3 separate regions of the Homo sapiens genome follow, and all the other regions are linked to region 3. The links are contacts of gene promoters, found by promoter capture Hi-C in human tissues and cell types (Jung and others, 2019). All regions are on one chromosome and are shown on one strand. The core of a region is centred on a gene start or on the middle of the fragment in contact, and the rest is flanking DNA. Distances in the headings are between cores, read along the strand shown.

Region 1 (3,120 bases), core at 327-2,826, 250 kb before region 3:
GGCGTGAGCCGCCGCGCCCGGCCCTTTTGCAGAGGTTCTGTCTGCTGGTTTGGTTTTCTTGAAGGATCCCTCAATTTCTTGCCTTGCTGGTATAAGCTGGATTTTTTTTTTTTTTTGAGACAGAGTCTTGGTCTTGTCGCCCAGGCTGGAGTGCAGTGGTGTGATCTCGGCTCACTGCAACCTCTGCCTCCTGGGTTCAAGCAATTCTCCTGCCTCATTACCCCCCCACCCCCAAGTAGCTGGGATTATAGTTGTGCACCACCACGTGTGGCTACTTTTTGTATTTTTAGTAGAGAGGGAGTTTCGCCATGTTGGCCAGGCTGGTCTTGAACTTCTGACCTCAAGTGATCCACCCTCCTGGGTCTCCCAAAATAATGGGATTACAGGTGTGAGCCACCATGCCCGGCCATTTTTGGTGGACCTTTTTATGGGGCTAAACGTCTGGTGTCTTGTGGCTACAGAAGACCAGTACTTGCTTGAGGAGGAGACCTGAGAGGTCAGCTGTTCTCAGGTGGAGTTTTGCCCGCATTCCCCTTTGTAGTTGCAGGCATCACCCCCATTGTCCCCACCCTTCTGTGTTTTCTGGGGTCAGTCTGCCAGCTGCTCAGCTGCAACTCCTTTATTTAAGTTTCTCCTTCCTCTACTCTGTGGGATAGGTTAGCTCTCCTCTACCTCTCTGTCTTCCTATTTGTGTTCTATTTAGGGATTTCACATGTCTTGGGGTTTATGTGTCTCTTTCCTGCTTTTCTTGTCTTTGATTGATTTTTGCTAAGAGAAGAGAGGATCAGAATCAATTTTTCTTTTTTTAAAATTACTTAAACATTTAATTTTTAATTACACAATATAATTTATAAAACATTTTGTAGAGATGGAGTCTCACTGTGTTGCCCAGGCCGATCTCCAACTGGGCTCAGGCGATTCTCCCGCTTTGGCCTCTGAAAGTGTTAGGATCACAGGCGTGAACTGCTGTGGCTGGCCTGAGAAGCATTTTCCATAAATCTTGAGAAGCAGATTCTTCCGTAAACTAGAAGCACAGCTGTCCTATGAAAAGGGCTGCCTGTCTTCGGATCTTACTATGTCAGTTGTTGGTTGTGGTCGGAAGGTTCTGGAGTCATAGTAAGGGCCAGCAAGGGTGATGTTTGTGCCTCAGCTCTAATGTCGAAAAGAGCGTCTGTGGCTACCTTAGTTGCTGGAGATCCCACACGTGGCCAGAGCCAGAGGTGGGGCTAGAGCCCTGGTTTCCTTCTTCTGCTTCCTGTCATGTGCTGAAAGAGCTGTGTAGGTTTGACCACATTTTATTGAGTTTTTCTTTGAAAATAATTTGGCTTATAAGAATCATGTTTTGGATTCTTTAGGAACTTTATTTTTTTTTTCAATCATTTCATTGGATTAAGCATGGTTGATGGATTACTTTATCCTAAGGTAAGTGGGCAGTTTGATTTTAAGTTGCTCACTCAGCAAACCAGGTAGGGAATAGTTATTTGCTTTTGTATTTTTTTTTTTTTTTTGAGATGGAGTTTCGCTCTCGTTGCCCAGGCTGGAGTGCAGTGGTGCAATCTTGGCTCACTGGAACCTCCGCCTCCCAGGTTCAAGCGATTCTCCAGCCTCAGCCTCCCGAGTAGCTGGGATTACAGGCGCCCACCACCATGCCTGGCTAATTTTGTATTTTTAGTAGAGATGGGATTTCTCTATGTTCGTCAGGCTGGTCTCAAACTCGTGACCTCAGGTGATCTGCCTGCCTCGGCCTCCCAAAGTGTTGGGATTACCGGCGTGAGCCACCACACCTGGCCAGTTTTTTTGTTGTTGTTGTTAAATGGAGTCTCGCTCTGTTGCCCAGGCTGGAGTGCAGTGGCGTGATCTCGGCTCACTGCAAGCTCCGCCTCCTGGGTTCTCGCCATTCTTCTGCCTCAGTCTCCCAAGTAGCTGGGACTACAGGCGCCCACCACCATGCCTAGCTAATTTTTTGTATTTTTAGTAGAGACAGGGTTTCACTGTGTTAGCCAGGATGGTCTCGCTCTCCTGACCTCGTGATCTGCCCGCCTCTGCCTCCCAAAGTGCTGAGGTTACAGGCATGAGCCATCGCACCTGGTCCAGTTTTTTGTATTTTTAGTAGAAACGGGGTTTCACCATGTTAGCCAGGCTGGTCTCGAACTCCTGACCTCAGGTGATCCGCCCACCTCGGCCTCCCAAAGTGCTGGGATTATAGGCATGAGCCACCGCACCCGGCTGAGAATAGTTATTAGAGCCCAGTTAATTTGGCCTATGGCAGGTATGATATAGAAAGCATTACTTCCAGGACTGAGAATTCTCCTTTCTTACTGTTTTGCTTCTCTTTAACTTTTAATATTTTCATGTATTAAAAAAAAATCTGATGATTTTGGATTTTGAAAAACAAAGCTAAAGTGGCTGCTATAACTCTTCAGAGGTAGCATTTCCTTTGAAATGGAGTCTCTTGGATAAGAGGCCACTTTCCCAGGAACATCACTGTGAGCTGCTGTTTCATTCTGGAAAAGCTTGTGGATTTCTTTCTGTATTCTAGTTGTAATAGGCTGGTTCTGATCACAGTATATTTAAGATGCTGTTTTGAGCACTTTCTGTTTATGCAGTGCAATTCTAGGTATTTGTAAGAGGACATACAAAGTTTTGAGATTGATCCCTGATGTTACAAAATTTAATAATAGAACAGAGCAAATATTACTGAGTAGGAAATGAGAGTCAGTTAAAAGTAAACAAGAAGAGGCTGCTGGATGGCCACAATTGCTGCGGCCACATGTGTGGGGAAAAGTTCCTTGAGGAAGATGAGTTAGTCTAGGTCTTTTTTTTCCTTTAACAGCTTCTTGTCCAACACATAGTCTAGGTCTTAAAGGATGTGAGACATGAATTGGCATGAGAAGGTGGACAAAGTGTACATTAACAAAAATTAGGCATTTTAGCAAATTTAGAAATCAAACCTAGAAACCTCAGGATGCCATATATTTGTCATCTGTTTTTTTCCTGATCCTCGTGAGTGTATGTGTTTTTATTTAAAATTGGTGGTAATCAGTGATTATGTGCCGTTGTACTTCCTCTGTCCCGTATTGTCTGACGTGCATTCGTATCTTCAGTGTTTTTGGTAGCTGC
Region 2 (2,740 bases), core at 96-2,595, 200 kb after region 3:
AAATACAGAAGAACCTACAAAACTGTGTTTCACTACTTGCTAGAAACCAAGGGAAGGATTTCCATGTTTGAGTCATCTCCTGATCCCTCCGAAGACCCCTTGTGGGCAGCAGGGAGGGTGGGCTTTTTGGAGAATCACTTTCCTGAGGCATTGGTCTCTATACTGTTCAAAGACATCTGGTGCTGTAAGAACCAGCACACCTGTGGGCACAAAGCCAAACCTACTAGCCTGACCTTACCATGCACCTGGCCGCAGAGATGGGGTTCCACAGAAAGCCACATTCATGATACCACACCACGTACAGGGCCAGCACTCACTAGACATGTCCAGGATGAGTCGAGGAATCCTTGGGTTTAGCTATCACTCCTGTGCAGAGAAGAGGGTATTTCGTGGCCACTGTCCTTTGTTCTTGTCCCCATGGACCTCAGTCATGGTTCTTGGCTAACCCTGGTGTCTCCTTACTGAAACTGTAATCCTAATCCTTCTGGCACTTCCCTCACAGATTGGACATGCTGGGCAACTCATGCTTTGAAACACTTGGATGTGGTTTGGTCTGATAGAGAAGTGACATGGAAAAAATGGGACTGTGAATTTGGGATGGGTGGCAGGACTTCGTTAGGTTGGGATTTGGTTCCATTAATTGGAATAGAGGGTGCTGATGGAAGAATAGGGAATGAGGTTGTTCATGACAGCCTGCTGATAATCACTGAGTCAGGCACTATGCAGGGTCTTATGAATACATTAAGTATTTTAGTCTCTGTGACAGTCCTGAGATTGGTATTATTATTATTACAATGAAGAAATGGAGGTCTAGAGATGTTAAATATCTTAGCCTGAGTTTAGAACCTAAGCTTTTGAAATGGACAAATTCCTAGAAAGACACAAATTATCATAACTGACTGAATTAAGTAGAAAATATGAATAGACCTGTAACGAGTAAGAAGATTGAATCAGTAATCGAAAACTTCCCAATAAAGAGAAGCCCAAAACCATATAATGGCAAAGGGACACTCTTTGCTGGGAAAACGGGACATCCACATACAAAAGAGTGGAGTTGGACTCCTACCTTATACCATATACAAAGATTAACATAAAATTAAATAACTAAATGTAAGAGCTATAACTATAAAGCTCTTAGAAGAAAACATAGTGGGTAAATCTTTATGACGTTTTACTTAGTAACAGAGTCTTAGATTTGACACCAGAATCACAATAAAAGAAAAAATAAATTTGTCTACTCAAAATTAAAAACTTTTTAGAATCAAAGGACACTATCAACAGAATGAAAAGGCAACTCAAGGAATTGGAGAAAATATTTGTAAATTACATTTCTGATAAAGGGTTAATATCAGAATTGTTGAAAGAAAATCTTTAGCCAAATTAAATTTAACAGAGTTTAATTGAGCAAAGAATGATTCGCAAGTTGTGCAGCCTCCTGAGTCTGAGTAGGCTCAGAGACTCCAACACAGCCACATGGCAGAAGAGGATTTACGGACAGAAAAAGGAATATGATGTACAGAAAATGGAAGTGAGGTACAGAAACAGTTGATTGGTTACAGCTTAGCGTTTGCCTTATTTGAACACAGAACAGTTAGCTCCCTTTGATTGGCCAAAACTTGATGATTGGCGTGATAATAGGTTACAAAGTCTGTTTACACTTCCATTTAGGTTATAGTTCACTAGGTACAGAGAAGCCTCTAGGCTGAACTTAAAATATATAAGGAGGCAGCTTTAGGCTAAACTTGATTTAACAAAATGTATAAAGAACTTCTACAACTCAACAACAAAAATAAAACAACCCAATTAAGAAATGAGAGGTAACGTCAGCAAGATGGCTGACCTTCCACCTAGTGCTTGTCCTTCTCAAAAAGACAGAACAATGAACAAAAAATTACATTTTAATGAAAATAACTGAGGGAGAGTCTCGGAGTACATCAGAGGTGTAACAGAGACACTGGTGAGCACAGAAACTTGGGATGGCCACTTAGAGAATGGAATGAAACACCAAGCAAACACCACCACCCCATCCCACAACTAGGATCAGCTGGGACCTAGGAGAGCTTTTCCCTTTGGTGAGGAGGTAAGCAAGAGGATCCCAGCAGCCCCCATCACCATCTCGGACACCTGCAGACCCTACCACTCGGGTCCCCTGCAGTCCTCAAGGCACTAAGCCTAGCTGAGGGAGCTGCCTGGGGTCCACACACCTGTGCTCCCTCCAGAGACAAAGCCAACACTGCTCAGCCCCTGTGGCCCACGTGGCTACTGTGTTCCACTACCTAGGAGTTGGAACTAGAGCGGGAGTGTGACTTGCTCCTGGAGTAGCCGCAGCTTCCCTTTATCCTTGAGGCAAAACTGCCATCAAACTAACCAAGACTGGTGGCCGACATCCCCAAGCTGAGCTGCAAGCAGCTGTTACACCCTTCCCTGAGGGGCCACGTGGAGGTGGAGCTGCTTCACCTACCCTTCCCCTCCATGCCCATAGGCCAGAGCTGAAGTGGTACCCTGCCTCCTGGGAAAACAGTACCTTGGCCACTCAGAGCGGTCACACCTCCCCAGTGTCTTAAGTTGAAGCAGTTCCCTGCATCCCAGGAAATGGTGCGTTGGCCACCCAGAGCAGTCACATCCCCCAAGCCTGAGCTGAAGTGGCACATTGTCCCCACCCCCCACCCCTGGGAATCAGTGCCCTGGATGAACTGAGGGCTGTGCATCCCAGGGCTGAACTGACATGGTACCCTGCCAT
Region 3 (3,095 bases), core at 12-2,511:
AGAAGCTTTTCCTTTGTTAGAAAAGAAAATCGTAACCTGATTCACAAAGTGGTCATCCTTTGTACACCTGCCACTTCCTTCCCGTTTGAGATGCTGGTGTAGCGGTGTGATGCCCTGTGCTATGACAGCCACCCTGGGGCATGAGGCAACAGGCAGGAAGGCAGAAAGTGTATGTGGGGATTTTGGAGGGAGGAGAGATGGTGGCTTCGTATTCAGTGAGATCACAATGGCATCGTGCAAGCTGCTGCTAGCTGGGAAGCGGGTTGTTCGCCTCTGAATGCATCCTAAGTGATTCAGCACCCCAGCCTCCTGCAGTCCACACTCCACACGGCAGCCCGAGGGACCCTTCAGAGGCCTACGCGCCTCTGCTCGGAACTGTGCGGACTGCCTCCCTCTCAGAAGGCGCAGCCCGCACCCGGCCTCACTCTGCACTCAGCGCCTTGCGAGCGAGCTTCAGGTCCGAGAGGGTCCCTTGTTCCCGAAGGTCTCCCCGACCCCGGGGCCGCCTTTTTGGAGGTTGTGAGGACCCACGGGCCTGCACGAAGTGAGCGCTGTGTAAATGGTTGCTGTGCTTTGTACAAAACGGTCAGCTCCGTGAGGGCAGAGCTGGGAGCCCAGGACAGGCCCGGCCCGCGGTGGGCGCTCAAGGAGGCCTGGGGAATGGCAGTGACCGTGACAGGTTCCCTAACGGGGCGTGGCCTGCAAGGCGGTCAGAGGCTTCTCTGAGCTGAGATCCCGGAGCCAGCCCCGTGCGTGGAAACAGCAGGTCCCGCACCCGGGCTGGGGGCCCCCGACAGAAGCGTCCGCGTGGCACCAAGGCCGCGAGCCGAGCGCACCCGGAGGGTTGGGAAGGCCGGGGACCCGGCGGGGACGGGGCGGGCCGGCCCAGGCCTGGCGCCCAGCTCTGGGCTGCAGCCCCAGGGCTGGTGGCGCCTCCGGGCGGAGCGAGGGGTCCGTCTGGGCCGAGTTTGAGGAGCCGAGGGCACCCAGGGGCGGTGCGGCCGGCAGAGTGGGCTCCGGGGACGGCCCGGGCTGGCGCTGAGCGGCCGTCGAGGACCCACAGGCTCGTCCGCTCCTGGGCCCGGCCCAGCCCCGGGGTGGGAGGCGCGGGGCGAGGGAGGCGCAGCCGGAGGGGCCGGGGCGGGGCGGGGGCGGCCGCGGGGCGGGGCCGGCGCGGCAGGGTGGGCGGGGCCGGCGCGGATTGGCCGGGCCCCGCCACGTGACCGGCCCCTTATAGGGCGTGGCGCGGGGCCGCGGAGTCGGGTGAGGCGGCGGCGGCTGCGGCGGTGGGGCCGGGCGAGGTCCGCTGCGGTCCCGGCGGCTCCGTGGCTGCTCCGCTCTGAGCGCCTGGCGCGCCCCGCGCCCTCCCTGCCGGGGCCGCTGGGCCGGGGATGCACGCGGGGCCCGGGAGCCATGGTCCGCTTCGGGGACGAGCTGGGCGGCCGCTATGGGGGCCCCGGCGGCGGAGAGCGGGCCCGGGGCGGCGGGGCCGGCGGGGCGGGGGGCCCGGGTCCCGGGGGGCTGCAGCCCGGCCAGCGGGTCCTCTACAAGCAATCGATCGCGCAGCGCGCGCGGACCATGGCGCTGTACAACCCCATCCCGGTCAAGCAGAACTGCTTCACCGTCAACCGCTCGCTCTTCGTCTTCAGCGAGGACAACGTCGTCCGCAAATACGCGAAGCGCATCACCGAGTGGCCATATCCTGCCGGGCGGGGCCGGGCGGGGCCGGGCGGGGACCGGGGTGGGGGCCGGGGCCGGGGCCATCTTCCCGGTGGCCGGGAGGGCGCGACCTGGGGAGGCGTCGGGAGACGGGCGAGGGGGGTACGGAGCGCCCCAGGGCCCCTCGGAGCGGCGGGTGCGGGAGCATTTCCGTGAGTGCGGCGGGCGCGGGGCGGAGCCCCTCTGCTCCGGACTCGTCCCTCCGCACGCCGGGTCCTGGGGATCCTGGTCGGTGCACAGTGCGCGGCTAGCCTGGAGGGCACCGAGGGCGAAGCCGCGTCCGTGCAGGTGCGAGCGCTGTGGGGACGCGGCCGTGCGCGCGCCTGGCTGCAGGTGCCTGCGTGTGCGGGCTGAGCTGGAGCCTGGCGCTGCGCGTGCGTGCGCTCGCGATGCGGGCTACATGCATGTTCACGTGCCTGTGTAGGTACATGTGGCTGCGTGTCTGGAGGGAGCAGCGTGCGCCTGCGCGGGGTCTCCCTCCAGCCTCGCCTGGGGGCGCTCGGCCCCCTCCCCTCGGGGCCCTGGAGTCGGGCGGAGCCGGGCCGGAGGCGCTGTCCGCGGTGCTGACGGCCGCCCGGGTGTGCCGAGGGGCTGGCGGCCCAGACTGCGGAGGCCCCGCCTCGCGGCCGCCCCTAGGGATGGGGGCAGGGAGTGAGGGAGACCAGGCCGCTTCCGCCAGGAGAGGGGCTCCGGACCCAGTTGTCTCAGCCCCTCCGGAGACGGCCTAGCGGTGGCTGCTGCACTGGGCTCTGCTGGCGTCGGCCTCGTGTTTCCCTCCGTGCGGCGTCTGCCGGCCAGTCCTTAACTCACGCACTCCATTCGAGTATATGATCCTGGCCACCATCATCGCCAACTGCATCGTGCTGGCCCTGGAGCAGCACCTCCCTGATGGGGACAAAACGCCCATGTCCGAGCGGCTGGTGAGTGCCCGGCTGGGCCTGAGGGCAGGGTGGTGGGGAGGCCGCGACTCCACTTTCCTTTATGGTCTGTGCCTGAGAACAGCTTCCTCGGGCAGGGTCGTCTGGGCAGTGCCCCTCGCGTCTGAAGGAAAAGGTAGGCCTGGCAGATAACACCTTCCTCGAGGGCCAGGGCAGCTGGGGTCACCGGCTTAGCCCTGGGCGTGGCCACGTTAGCCCTGGGCCAGTCTGCCCTGTGCCACGAGCTACTCCTGCACCTCAATGGCTGTCCTGGCTTTCGGCGCTAGACTTTGATCCAGAAAACCATGTTCTAAACTTGGGGTGGGGAAGGGGCATTCATGTCTTCGGGAAGGTCAGCTCTGAATGCCATGTGTGCCCTGCTGGGCTGAGATGGGCTTTGGCCTGGATGTGGGAACCCTGAGCCTCATCCTCCAAGTTGTCTTGTGCGGGCCTGCTTGG

What was found. Contacts are between HindIII fragments. The study calls those that stand out against the background at their distance.
Region 1: a fragment that was not itself captured here is called in contact with the fragment with the promoter of CACNA1B in region 3 in 1 of the 25 tissues and cell types used here (dorsolateral prefrontal cortex).
Region 2: a fragment that was not itself captured here is called in contact with the fragment with the promoter of CACNA1B in region 3 in 2 of the 25 tissues and cell types used here (H1 embryonic stem cells and dorsolateral prefrontal cortex).

Annotation. Positions count from the first base shown.
Region 1 is chr9:137,627,602-137,630,721 of GRCh38, forward strand. All of the region lies in intron 1 of EHMT1 (euchromatic histone lysine methyltransferase 1), which reads left to right. Among named protein-coding and RNA genes, the nearest start is that of EHMT1, 10 kb to the left of the region's middle. RefSeq lists an enhancer at 962-1,021. The HindIII fragment of the contact is 8,247 bases long and covers 1-3,120 here.
Region 2 is chr9:138,080,913-138,083,652 of GRCh38, forward strand. All of the region lies in intron 36 of CACNA1B (calcium voltage-gated channel subunit alpha1 B), which reads left to right. Among named protein-coding and RNA genes, the nearest start is that of FAM157B, 130 kb to the right of the region's middle. The HindIII fragment of the contact is 7,824 bases long and covers 1-2,740 here.
Region 3 is chr9:137,876,521-137,879,615 of GRCh38, forward strand. CACNA1B (calcium voltage-gated channel subunit alpha1 B) reads left to right here and starts at 1,262. Exons shown (of 47, transcript NM_000718.4): 1 at 1,262-1,697; 2 at 2,534-2,639. The coding sequence starts at 1,414. All of the region lies in intron 2 of CACNA1B-AS2 (CACNA1B antisense RNA 2), which reads right to left. RefSeq lists an enhancer at 1,455-2,370. The HindIII fragment of the contact is 23,600 bases long and covers 1-3,095 here.